Linked DNA regions of Homo sapiens: region 2 is linked to region 1. Evidence: promoter capture Hi-C in human tissues and cell types (Jung and others, 2019). All regions are on one chromosome and are shown on one strand. The core of a region is centred on a gene start or on the middle of the fragment in contact, and the rest is flanking DNA. Distances in the headings are between cores, read along the strand shown.

The links. The method cuts DNA at HindIII sites, captures the fragments that hold promoters and counts their contacts. A contact is called where the count stands out against the background at its distance.
Region 2: a fragment that was not itself captured here is called in contact with the fragment with the promoter of MTRF1 in region 1 in 1 of the 25 tissues and cell types used here (aorta).

What each region holds. Positions count from the first base shown.
Region 1 is chr13:41,260,411-41,266,933 of GRCh38, reverse strand. MTRF1 (mitochondrial translation release factor 1) reads left to right here and starts at 3,358. Exons shown (of 10, transcript NM_004294.4): 1 at 3,358-3,449; 2 at 6,019-6,441. The coding sequence starts at 6,027. RefSeq lists a silencer at 3,063-3,152 and an enhancer at 3,440-3,940. The HindIII fragment of the contact is 6,309 bases long and covers 431-6,523 here.
Region 2 is chr13:40,920,981-40,927,606 of GRCh38, reverse strand. It overlaps the pseudogene TPTE2P5 and the pseudogene SUGT1P3. Among named protein-coding and RNA genes, the nearest start is that of ELF1, 95 kb to the left of the region's middle. RefSeq lists a silencer at 3,400-3,694 and enhancers at 5,605-5,654, 5,298-5,884. The HindIII fragment of the contact is 5,567 bases long and covers 1,881-6,626 here.

The DNA of each region.
Region 1 (6,523 bases), core at 2,109-4,608:
AAACTCTGCCTCCCAGGTTCACACCATTCTCCTGCCTCAGCCTCCCAAGTAGCTGGGACTACAGGCGCCTGCCACCACGCCCGGCTAATTTTTTTGTATTTTTTTAGAAGAGATGGGGTTTCACCGTGTTAGCCAGGATGGTCTCGATCTCCTGACCTCGTGATCCACCCACCTCGGCTCCCAAAGTGATGGGATTACAGGCGTGAGCCACTGCGCCCGGCATCACAGGGAAATTTGAACACTGACTGGACATTAGATAATATTAAAAAGCTGTAATTTTCTTAAGAGATAAAGTCTCACTGTTTTTTGTTTTGTTTTTGTTTTTGAGATAGCATGTTGCTCTGTCACCCAGGCTGGGGTGAGGTGGCACCATAGCTCACTGCAGCCTCTACTTCCCAGGTTCAAGTGAGTCTCATGTCTCAGCCTCCTGAGTAGCTGGGATTACAGGTGCGTGCCACTGTGCTTGGCTAATTTTTGCATTTTTAGCAGAGATAGGGTTTCACCGTGTTGACTAGGGTGGTCTCAAACTCCTGGCCTCAAGTGATCCACCCGCCTTGGCCTCCCAAGGTGCTGGGGTTACAGGCGTGAGCCACCACGCCCAGCCCGAGTTCTAAATGTCTAAGTTGTTCTGCATAGTCAGAATAACTTGGCTGCCATAACAAAAAACCATAGACTGGGCCAGGTGCAGTAGCTCACACCTGTAATCCCAGGATTTTAGGAGGCTGGGAGTTTGAGACCAGCCTAGTCAACATAGTGAGACCCCCATCTCTATTTAAAAAAAAATAAAAGCCAGGTGTGGTGGCTCATGCCTGTAATCCCAGGACTTTGGGAGGCTGAGGTGGGCAGATCACAAGGTCAAGAGATTGAGACCATCTGGCCAACATGGTGAAACCCCATCTCTACTAAAAATACAAAAATTAGCTGGGCGTGGTGGTGTGCACCTGTAGTCCCAGCTACTTGGGAGGATGAGGCAGGAGAATTGCTTGAATCCGGGAGACAGAAGTTGCAGTGAGCCAAGATCAGGCCACTGCACTCCAGCCTGGTGACAGAGCGAGACTCCACCTCAAAAAACAAAAAAACAAAAAAACAAAAAACCACCAGCTGGGTGGCCTAAACAACAGAAATTTGTTTCTTAGCCTCTTGCGAGATTGGGAAGTCTAACATCAAGGTGGCAGCAATGTAGGTTTCAGTCTGATACCTCTTCTCTTGGCTTGTAGGTGGCCACCATCTCACAGTGTACTCACGTAACCTCTTCTTTGTTTGGGCAGGGACAGTGAGCAAGATCTCTGGTGCCTTTTTAGAAAGGCACTAATCCTATTATGTCAGGGCTCTACTCTTACGACCTCATCTGACCTTAATCACCTTAAAGGCCCTATCTCCAATACAGACACATGTATTGGAGGGGTTAGGGCTTCAATATATGAATTTTAAAAATAAATATTAGTAATATGCACATGATTATGAATATAAACAATTCAGTCCATAGCAGTAAGACTACTTTTTTTTTTTTTTGAGACGGAGTTTCACTCTTGTTGCCCAGGCTGGAGTGCAATGGTGCAATCTTGGCTCACTGCCACCTCTGTCTCCTGGGTTCAAGCGATTCTCCTGCCTCAGCCTCCGAGTAGCTAGGATTACAAGCATGAGCCACCACGCCCAGCTAATTTTGTATTTTTAGTAGAGATGGGGTTTCTCCATGTTGGTCAGGCTGGTTTCGAACTCCTGACCTCAGGTGATCCACCTGGCTCGGCCTCCCAAAGTGCTAGGATTACAGGCGTGAACCACCACGCCCGACTAAGACTAATTTTTTAAGGAGAATAAAGCTTTATATATAATACTCAAGTTATATAGCTGAAAGCACAAATCAGAATAAATAATTAAAGAACTTTTTGGATAACTTAGGAGAATGACTTTATGTAGACCCTTTGAAACTTTTCCCCTACTGGAACATAAGCTCCATGTGGGCAAAGGTTTTTGTCTTTTCTGTTCATTGCTAAATCCTCATGACTAGAATAGTGAATAGCACATAACTGGTGTTCACTATTTATTGAATACATGATTGAAGGTTTTTTCTTTTTTGGAGCAGGGTGGCCCTATATCAGAGCTTAGGAGCCACAGATCATTAAAGCCATTGCCTTAATTGAGTCTTGGCTCTATCACTTACTGTTTTTTACCTTGGAGTAGTTACTTTAGCTCTGTGTGCCTTAATTTTCTCCTCTGCAAAATAAGTATTTTAAGGTTGTAAAAATTAAATGAATTAATAGGGTAAAACCATTTAGAACAGTATTTAGTACATAGTACATAGAAGTAGGTACCTTGAAGTTGGCTATAAACGTTAGATATTATTTTGCATATATAGCTAATTCTCCTATCTATGTATGTGATTATAATCTAAGAAAATACTCTGTAAAGTCAGTAATATGGTACATTTTTTGCCTTTTCTTTCAGGAAGAAAAATTGAGGCATGGAGATAGAAAGACTGTAAATTGCGATAGCCAAGGGCTGGATCCCACTGGATTAGTCAAAGTAGGACAATATGCTTGCATTTTCCTGCAATTGTTTATTAACTGGAGTTTTCATTCTTCACTTAATCAGTGGTTCATAAGCTATGAATCTAGGTTGAGCCCCTACATTCCCATGTGCAAAGAACATTATAAAATCACTAACATGTGGAAATACACGGTCTCCTAACTTTTGGGGCTGTTACTACTTTTAAAATATAAATTTATTTGTATTATCCTTTAGTCATTAGGTATTTTCTGAAGCAATGGAAGCTGAAAGTATAGAAATTACACGCAGAATCTTCTACATTTGTGGATGATGTAAAAGGAGTCTTTATTTTTTTTAAATATTGGAAAACAGTGCTTTACGGGCTTCTAATACATAAGGAAATTATTGTAATTTCACATGCAATGTGTTCTAAATCTTGATCTCTTAATCAGAATCGTAAAGAATCTCTCTTCTAGGTTTGCAGTTAACGGTGAAAACCAAAAACTCCACATTTGGCTGGATAGTGAGTGGAGGGGGTTGGAGGCTGCCGCAAGGTAAACTACAACTCCCAGGATTCTTTGGTGGGCGCTCTGGGAGTTGTAGTTTAGTCCCACCTTGGCCCCTCCCTCCCTCCCTCCCTCCCACCATCTCCATCCCCGCTCTGGGCTCACGCTCTGGATAAGGACGGCGCGGGGGCGGTTGTCTGATGACAATTTCATTCTCGTTTTGTCATTTTTCTCATTTAGCTCATTTTTGTCATTTTAGTCCATTGTTAGGCATGCTCGAGGACAACTCCTCCGGAGAGCGGTAGTGGCGGAGGAGGGGCCGGGAGCGTGCGTTAACCCGGAAGAAGTGAACCAGGAAGTGAACGTGATCTCGGGTTTGTCGGGCTGAAATGTGGCGGGTCTCGGAAGGTTCCGACCTCAGTAAAGAGAGCTAACGTGTATTCTTCTTTTTCTTAGGTACTCACAGTTCTTTCCTGATCTTCCCCGCCGCCTCCTGTATTGCCTCTTTATGGAATCACTCCATATACTGAGTTACACAGCATGGTTTGCCCGTGCTGCTGCCCCGCGGGCTGTCGCTTCTGACCTGCCTACACTCAGAACTTTCCCCAAAGCATCAGAGTAATACTGTTACTGTGATGGGTAATGGAGAAGTCGTGCTGTTCTCAGGTGTAGTTAACCTTGGAGAGTAAACATCTTGTTTTGTTTTGTTTTCCTTAATGTTGAGATTCATGACCTTGAAAATTATGCATTCTACTACTGTTCCTAAAATGGAAATTTTAGCAATAAGTATTCGTACAAACATATATTTGTCATCCTTTTATTCTGTCTGTTAGCAAATGGATACACTTTCTCTAACGTGCTTGAAATACGGGGGTGGTGGAGTGTAACGTTTGTGACAGCTGGCCATTGGTGCTTTCTTCAACAGTTCTTTTAATAATGTGATGCAGTATCCTAAAATCTATCAGTAGAACTCTGGAAACTGAATATTTTAAAGACCATTCTGACTATTTTATTTCCTAGGTGATAATGCTAAGTTAACAGACTTATAGTGAACAAATGAGCTAATATATCAATGCACCTCCTAGCATAGTAGGATCACTGGAGACAGTAAAGTTTGATTTTGATAAATGTTGATCCTTCTTTTTTTGAGTTGAGTCTCACTGTGTTGCCCAGGCTGGCCTTGAACTCCTTGGCTCAAGTGATCCTCCTGCCTCAGTCTCCTGGGTAGCTGGGACAATAGGTGCATGCTACTGTGCGTGGCTTGACCCTTATTTCAACTTTGAACCTTAGAGTTTTCTTAGAACACTTTATATTCTCCCTTTCTTACTCAGTAAGACCATTGTGTACTTTTGTTAGCTCTTGATTATCTCTGTTGGAGGGGAGGAGAACAGAAAATTATTGTACACAGCCAATTTCACCTAACCTGTAATTTTTTAAACTAATCTTTTTTTATGATTAGGAAAGTATTCCATGCTACATGTGCAAGAAACTTGGAAAACACTGAAAAGTAGAAAAAATAGCAAGCAAAAGGTATTCATAATCTCACAACTAGAGATCATTTTATTAACATTTTGGTATGTTTCTTTTTTTTTTTTTTTTTTTGAGACAGCGTGTTGCTTTGTCGCCCACGCTGGTTGCAGTGGTGCGATCTCAGTTCACTGCAACCTTCGCCTCCCAGGTTCAAGCGATTATCCTGCCTCAGCTTCCCGAGCAGCTAGGACTACAGGTGTGTGCCATCACGCTCAGCTAATTTTTTTGGTATTTTTAGTAGAGATGGGGTTTTCCCATGTTGGCCAGGCTGGTCTCGAACTCCTGACCTCAGATGATCTGCCCGCCTCGGCCTCCCAAAGTGGTAGGATTACAGGCGTGAGCCACTGTGCTCGGCACATTTTGGTATGTTTCTTATTTAACTTTCTTTTTAAAAAATACTCTATGTGCTTTTTTTTTTTTACATGTATACCTTATATTGTAGAATATTTTTTAAATGTAATTGAGATTCTATTTTGTTCCTTGCCTTTCTTGCTTAATATAATTGTCACCATTTAATATAACTGTAGAGCTTTTCACCAGCCCTACTTTCTTGGTCTATTAATACTTGAACTTTTCTTCCTTTAGGATCTCAGCTAAACGGGAAGCATTTTTGAAAAGTGATTGCACAATTGAGAGTGAAAATTACTGAGTCCTGAACAGGCAACTTACATTCTAATACCAGCTCTGTCTCCATCCAGCCGACTGAATAGTCGTGATTAAGTTACTTGACTTCCTTGGATATCTAGATCCTTAAAGTTAAAGAATTATACAAGATAATAATATTTTCTTCAAACTTTAGAAAATGACTTTATGAACCGCCTTAAGTTTGTATGTTTTCATAGCTTTCAAGAGCTTGTTTACACACTCAATTCTAGATTCTAGATACTTTCTAGAAAATAACTGACTTAACTCATTCAATTGATATATTTGTTAGTTGTACTCCTACTCATATGCTTCAGTTAATTATATATGTTGAACAGGTAGGAAGCAGTGCTGTTTTTATTTATTTTAATATGTTATTCATACATTTGAAGAATTATGTTCTTTCTGTAGGCAGCTGAATTTTTTTTTTTTTTGAGACGAAGTCTTGGTATTGTCCCCCTTGCTGGAGTGCAATGGCATGATCTCGGCTCACTGCAACCTCTGCCTCCTGGGTTCAGGCAATTCTCCTGCCTCAGACTCCTGAGTAGCTGGGATTACAGGCGCCTGCCACCACGCCCGGATAATTTTTGTATTTTTAGTAGAGACAGTGTTTCACTATGTTGGCTGGGCTGGTCTCGAACTCCTGCCCTCAGGTGATCCGCCTGCCTCAGCCTCCCAAAGTGCTGGGATTACTGGCGTGAGCCACTGCTGCCAGCCGGCAGTTGAATTTTAAGACTGTGGAGCTGGCTGAGGCAGTAGATGAAACAAGATTTCTTGATGTTCCTTCCAGGTTTATTATGCATGTATCTTTAGAGATGATTTTTTTTTAAAGACTGTGTTTATTGTATTTCAGATGCTGAGATGAATCGTCACCTGTGTGTTTGGCTTTTTAGACATCCATCTCTTAATGGTTACCTCCAGTGTCACATCCAGCTCCATTCTCATCAATTTAGACAGATACATCTTGATACAAGGCTGCAAGTTTTTAGACAAAACAGGAATTGCATTCTTCATCTGTTAAGTAAGAATTGGTCCAGGAGATATTGCCATCAAGACACCAAGATGCTCTGGAAGCATAAAGCACTACAGAAATATATGGAGAACCTGAGTAAGGAGTACCAAACACTTGAGCAATGTCTGCAGCATATCCCTGTGAATGAGGAAAACCGAAGGTCCTTGAACAGAAGGCATGCTGAGTTGGCACCTCTTGCAGCCATTTACCAAGAAATTCAGGAGACTGAACAAGCAATTGAAGAATTAGAATCAATGTGTAAAAGTAGGTAAAAGATACTTATGTGTCCTGCATAAGGGCTATGAAAAAAAAAACCACACACTTATATGCGTGTGTGTAAGTACAG
Region 2 (6,626 bases), core at 3,415-5,914, 340 kb after region 1:
GCCTAGGCTGGTCTCGGACTCCTGGCCTCAAGCGAACTTCTGGCCTCCTGTCTCAGGCCCCAGTAGCTGAGATTACAGCCCCACTTGGGATTTTGATTGGGATCATGTTGAGTCTATAGGTCAGTCTCGGAAGATCTCAACAATATTGAGTCTTTGACTCATCAATTTGGAGGAGCTCTCCATTTTTCAGTCTTCTTTAATTTTTTTTTTTTTTTTTTGAAATGGAGTCTCGCTCTCTCGCCCAGGCTGGAGTGCAGTGGCGCAATCTCGGCTCACTGCAAGCTCCGCCTCCCGGGTTCACCCATTCTCCTCCCTCAGCCTCCCGAGTGGCTGGGACTACGGGCGCCCGCCACCACGCCCGGCTAGTTTTTTTGTATTTCTTTAGTAGAGACGGGGTTTCACCGTGTTAGCCAGGATGGTCTCCATATCCTGACCTCGTGATCCGCCCGCCTCGCCCTCCCAAAGTGCTGGGATTACAGGCGTGAGCCCCCGCGCCTGGCCAATTTCTTTTCTTTTCTTTTTTTCTTTTTCTTTTCTTTTCCTTTCTTTTCTTTTCTTTTTTTTTTTCTTTTTGAGACGGAGTTTCACTCTTGTTGCCCAGGCTGGAGTGCAGTGGCGCAATCTTGGTTCACCGCAACCTCCGCCTGCTGGGTTCAAGTGATTCTCCTGCCTCAGCCTCCCGCGGAGCTGGGATTACAGGCATGTGCCACCATGACCGACTAATTTTGTATTTTTAATAGAGGCGGGGTTTCTCCATGTTGTTCAGGCTGGTCTTGAGCTCCCGACCTCAGGCGATCCACCCATCTCGGCCTCCCGAGTCTTCTTTAATTTCTTTCAGCAATGTTTTATAGTTTCCAGTGCACATGTCTTGCATATCTCTTGTCAGATTTACTTTTTAGTATTTAATATTTTTTATGTTACTGTAAATGTCATGGCTTTTTACATTTTAAATTTTGATTATTAGTGATTTTGCTTTAAATCTTTTTTCTATTTTATTAAAGTATAACTTTGTAAAGTGCACAAATCCGTATATAAAACTTTGTAAAGTGCACAAATTCATAAACCTCTCTTTGGGAAAGCTTTATTGTGAAAAAGATACAAATAAGATAGTCTTGTTAGATTCAGTTCGAAAGGAAATTATCAAGTGTAACACGCTTACTTAAGGATGGCCTCGACATTAGATTGGGAAGATTTTCTCTTTCAAATGAATGAAAATGATCCCTTTCATAGGAAGATGTTAGGTAACACAGGATAAGTGACTAAATATTTTCACTCTTCGAGTTGAAGACCAACTATCCTTCAAGAAATGTCCCCTAATCCAGCATGGTTATTCTTCACCTTCTTTAAATTAACCAAGCGAAGTACATTGGCATATTTAGTTGTGTCATTTGAATATGAAAACATATTTTATCAATGACTTCTTAAGTATTTGTCTGTCCTTCCTCCCAAGGTTTCAATAAACTGATGCCAAGAATTTATGGAGAAAATTATAAAAGTTTACTAAAAGATATGAGAAACGGAATGAATGAAGCAAGCAATTGTGTTCATGGACAGGAAAAGGCAATACAAGGGAAAGATATCATTTCTCCCCAAGCTAGTCTGCAAAATAAATAAAGTGAAACATTTTTGTTGTTGTTGTTGTTGCTGTTGTTTTTTTAAAGACAAAGAGGCTCGCACTGTTGCCCAGGCTGGAGTGCAGTGGCATGATCATAGCCTCAACTTCTTGGGCTCAAGCGATCCTCCTGACTCAGCCTCCCAAATAGCTGAGGCACATGCCACCATGCTTGGCTAATGCTTTCTATTTATTTATTTTTTGTACAGACAAGTTCTCCCCATCTTGCCCAGGCTGGTCTTGAACTCTTGGGCTCAAGCAATTTTTCTGCCTTGGCCTCCCAAAGTGCTGAGATTACAGGCATGAGCTACTGCACCCAGGCTGCACAAATCTTGTGTATAACTTGATACAATTTTATGTCTCAATACACTTCTGTGATTACCAGCCAGATCAAGATATGTAACATTTCCTGCATCCAAGAAGGTTTCTTCATGCCCCTGCTCCCCACCCTCCCTGACAACCAGGAGATTCCCTTATGATACCTCTCACTACAGTTTTTTATCTTCATATAAATGAAATCAATCATGATATACTCTGTCTGGCTTCTTTACCTCAACTTATGTATATAGGATTCATCCATATTGTTTGGTATAGTAGTAGTACATTCTTATTCATTGCTATGTAATTTTTTTATCCAATTTGAGGACATTTAGATTATTTCCAGTTTTTGCTACTGTGGATAATGCTGCGATGAATATTCTTGTATATGATCATAAATACTCAGGTATATGCCCAGTGGTACAATTATTGGGCAGTATGTTATGTGTATAACTAGCTTTAGTAGATAGTGTCTGATATAGTTTGGGTATGTGCCCTCACCCAAACCTCATGTCAAATTATAATACCCAATGTTGGAGGTTGGGCCTGACGGGAGGTAATTGGATCATGGGAGTGGGTTTCTTATGAATGATTAAGTACCATCCCCCTTGGTACTGTCCTCGCAACAGTGAATGAGTTCTTGGGAAAGCTGGTTGTTTAAAAGTGTGTGGCACCTCCCCCCACCCTACTTGCTCTTGCTCCTGCCACGTAAGATGCCGGCTCTACCTTTGCCTTCTGCTATGATTGGAAGCTTCCTGAGGGCTCCCCAAAAGCAGAAGCTGCTATGCTTCTTGTGCAGTCTGCAGAACCATGAGCCAATTAAACATTTTTTCTTTATAAATTACCCAGTCTCAGGTATTTCTTTATAGCAATGCAAGAACAGACTAATACCGTGTCACACAGTTTTCCAAAATGATCAACTAATTTAAACTCTCATCAACAATATATGAAACATATAGTTGCTCCATATTCTTGTCAATGCTTGGTATTGGAAGTCCTTTAATTTAAGCCATTCTGGTGGTAGTTTTGGAATCTCATAATTTCAATGTCCATGATACAGCTATTTTTTTTTTTTTGAGACAGTCTGACTCTATTGCCCAGGCTGTAGTGCAGTGGTGCCACCTTGCTCACTGCAACCTCCGCCTCCCAGGTTCGAGCAATTTTGTGCCTCAGCCTCCCTAGTAGCTGGGATTACAGGTGCTCACCACCACGCCCAGTTAATTTTTGTATTTTTAGTAGAGATGGGGTTTTGTCATGCTGCCCAGGCTGGTCTCCAACTCCTGGCCTCAAGGGAGCCACCCACCTCAAGCTCCCAAAATGTTGGAATTACAGGCGTGAGCCACTGCGCCTGGCCATGACATAGCTATTAATATAGAACTTTTCATGTTGGACCTATAGGTCAATCTTGGAATTTGCCCTTTCAGAGGCTATTCATATTTATATGCATATTGGTGCATGGCAGGGGCTGGTGTACACACCTTGGTGTATGGCTGAGCCATAACTGGAGCATACTGAGAATAACCCTATTCTAAGTGTGTTTGGAGTCCTAGGCTAAGGAAGCCAGGAGTAGCCAACACTAAGATTCACTCCTTATCTATGAAAGACATCCACACCCCTGCTCCATCTCTTAGAACACAGGCTGTACAGTGGAGCAAGGCCCTTTGTTTTGGGTTAAATGGAGGTTGCTAGAAGGAGGGTGCTAAGTGAAAATGCTATATAGACTACATGCTTTTTTTTATGAACAGTAGTGGTTCTCCAGGCCACCCCACCACCACTGGACCACCCCTGTATGTAAGTCCTGAATAAACCTTATATCTCCTTAGCTGGCTCTGCCTCTCCTATAGTACCATCCCAATCGGAATCAATGGGGATCTGGAAGGACAACTGGCCATTTAGATAACAAGTGAAAATTAACCAATGTAATTGGTTACATTGTAACATTATTATTAAAAATATTTTTAAAATTACTATATAACATATTATTATTAAAAAATACATATGAACATTTCAATAAAGGCAGAAAAAGCACTTGATATTGAATGCTTTCCTCTTGATGTTACAACCAAGACAAGGAAGTCCATTATCACTATTTCTATTCAATAGTGGACATACTAGCCAGCAACAAAACTAAAACGTATAAAGATTACAGAGAAGTTAAACCATCTTTATTCACGATTGCAAGATTGTCATCACATAAATTCCAAAAGACTCTACACAGTATTACAAATAATAAGGGAACTTAGCAAGATGCTTGAATGTAACATCAATATGTAAAAATCAATAGCGTTTCTATAGTCTTACAACAAACGAGAATATTTAAAAAATGCTATTTAACATCGCATTCAAAACACTATTCAAAAAGAAATCTAATGAAAGATATGTTTGATCTCTATACTGCAGTCTATCCAAACACAGCTGCATTAAAGTATAAATATGTGTATAATCTACAAAACATTGCCAGGAGAAATTAGAGGCCACTTAAATAAACGGCCACTTAAATGGATTGAAGGACTTAATATTGTTAATATACTAGTTATCCCCAAACAGATCTATAGATCCAATGCAAGCCCAGTACAAGTCCCAGCAGTTTTGTTTTTTTTAAAACTGACAAGCTAATTCCAAAATCACCTAGAAATACAATGGCCTTAGAATAAGCCAAAGCAATCTTGGGAGAATAAAGGACTTCAAGACTTATTATAAAGCTACGTTAATTAACACAGTTTGGTAGTGGTATAAAGTCAGATAAAGACCACTCCCTCCAGCTCCTCAATCTGACCCCACCCCTGGAACGCGCTGGCAGCTTTCCCCATGGGATGTGCATGGGTCAAAGGGCGCTGAGGGAGGACCTGAACGACTGGGTTGGGAAACAAAGCGGCCCTGAGATCACTTCAGGCCACCTTCCGCCCCTCAGTGCTTTCGTATAGAAAAGGTTTTCCTTCTTGATCTGGGAAGCCCACTAAGAAGAAAGCCTGGGCTGTGGAGTTATGAGGAAGGGAATGAATAGTACGCGGGCGCCGGGCGCGTCTCCCCGGGCACCAGAAGGCTTTTAGCCGCTGCTAGGTCAGAACGACTTCTAGCGAGTCCCAGCCCTTTTCCATTCCCAGCGCAATGATCGCGGGAATCCAGGCGCCATCCAGGCCCCTCTGTTCACTGAAAAGACCACGCAGCCGCCAGTGACATCACGGAGACGAAAGCCATGATAAAACCCAGGGAAAACGGAGCTCGAAGTAGCTTGTGTTTTATATATATATATATATATATATATATATATTTTTTTTTTTTTTTTTTTTTTTTTTTTTTTTTGAGACGGAGTCTTGCTCTGTCGCCCAGGCTGGAGTACAGTGGTCCGATCTCGGCTTACTGCAACCTCTGCCGCCCGGGTTCAAGGGATTCTCCTGCCTCATCCTCCCGAGTAGCTGGGATTACAGGCGCGTGCCACCACGCCCGGCTAGTTTTTATATTTTTAGTAGACGGGGTTTCAGCATCTTGGCCAGGCTGGTCTTGAATTCCTGACCTCGTGATCCACCCGTCTCGGCCTCCCAAAGTGCTGGGATTACAGGTGTGAGCCACCACGCTCGGCCTGTAGCTTGTGTTATTAACGGACAAGGAAACGCCCCTGCGCGTACACGTTCTTGAGGGATAACAGTATGTTACAAAAGTGCTTCTGAGCTACTACTCCTGGAGGCTCGGTCGGAGTGCCCGCGGACGTGGGCGCGGTGGAAAAGAGGGAGAACCTGTAGGCCCAGGCCTCCGTAAACATGGCTACGATGGGCGGGGACTGGGAGCGCAGGTCCCGGGCCGGGTTGCGGGCTGGGAGGACTCGGTCCTCCACTGTCCCAGCCGGCCACGCGCCCGCGTGTCGCCTCCCGTCCCGCTAGCAGCACGCTGCGTGGCTGCTCGTTGGCTGCTTAAGACGGAAGCTCGGTTGATGTTTCTGCAGAAGTTTTCCCCCTTGGTCGGTGGCGGAGCTGCTGAGCGCGATAGTAGCAGCTCCGGCGGCAGCAACATTGACTACGAGGAATGGCGGCGGCTGCCGCAGGACCTGCAGCATCCCAGAGGTGCGTGTTTTTCCTTCCCTTTGCTATTTATTTTATACCCCTTTCCTTGGTTAGTGGGCCCTGCTGAAGTCGTTGTTTTCCTGACAGGTTTTTCCAGAGCTTCTCAGATGCTCTAATCGACCAGGACCCCCAGGCGGCGTTAGAGGTGGGAGAGCCTTTTCTGCTTCCTCCACTCCCGGCTGACCCGCCTCCTTCCAGCACCGCCTGATTAGGACTCAGGCTCTAGTGATGCTGCGTCTCAGCCCCAGTATTGAGATTCTCGGTCTCCTTTCTCTCTCTCACGGTAGCCGCGTTACCTCAGACTCCTGTCTTGCCCTTTCCACTTCCAGACTCTTGCATTCCTGAAGCTTCTGAGAAAAACTTCCTCTATTTATTGGGAGCATGGTTGGCATCTGCAGTTGGGCTGAAAGGATTTTTTTTTTTAATGACTAGAAGAGAAAAGTGGACTCTGGGCTCGATGAAAATTAATTTTTTCTTTTGACAATCATTGTTGCCATTCTTATGTAAAAGTGTCGGTATGAAGTCAGTCTACTGGAACAAAAACCTCTTCCCTCACGTCCCGGAAACTTTCCAGATGTCTTGTCATAGTTCATTATTCACTCATTTGTTTATTTATCAAAAAATTTTTTAGGAGTTGC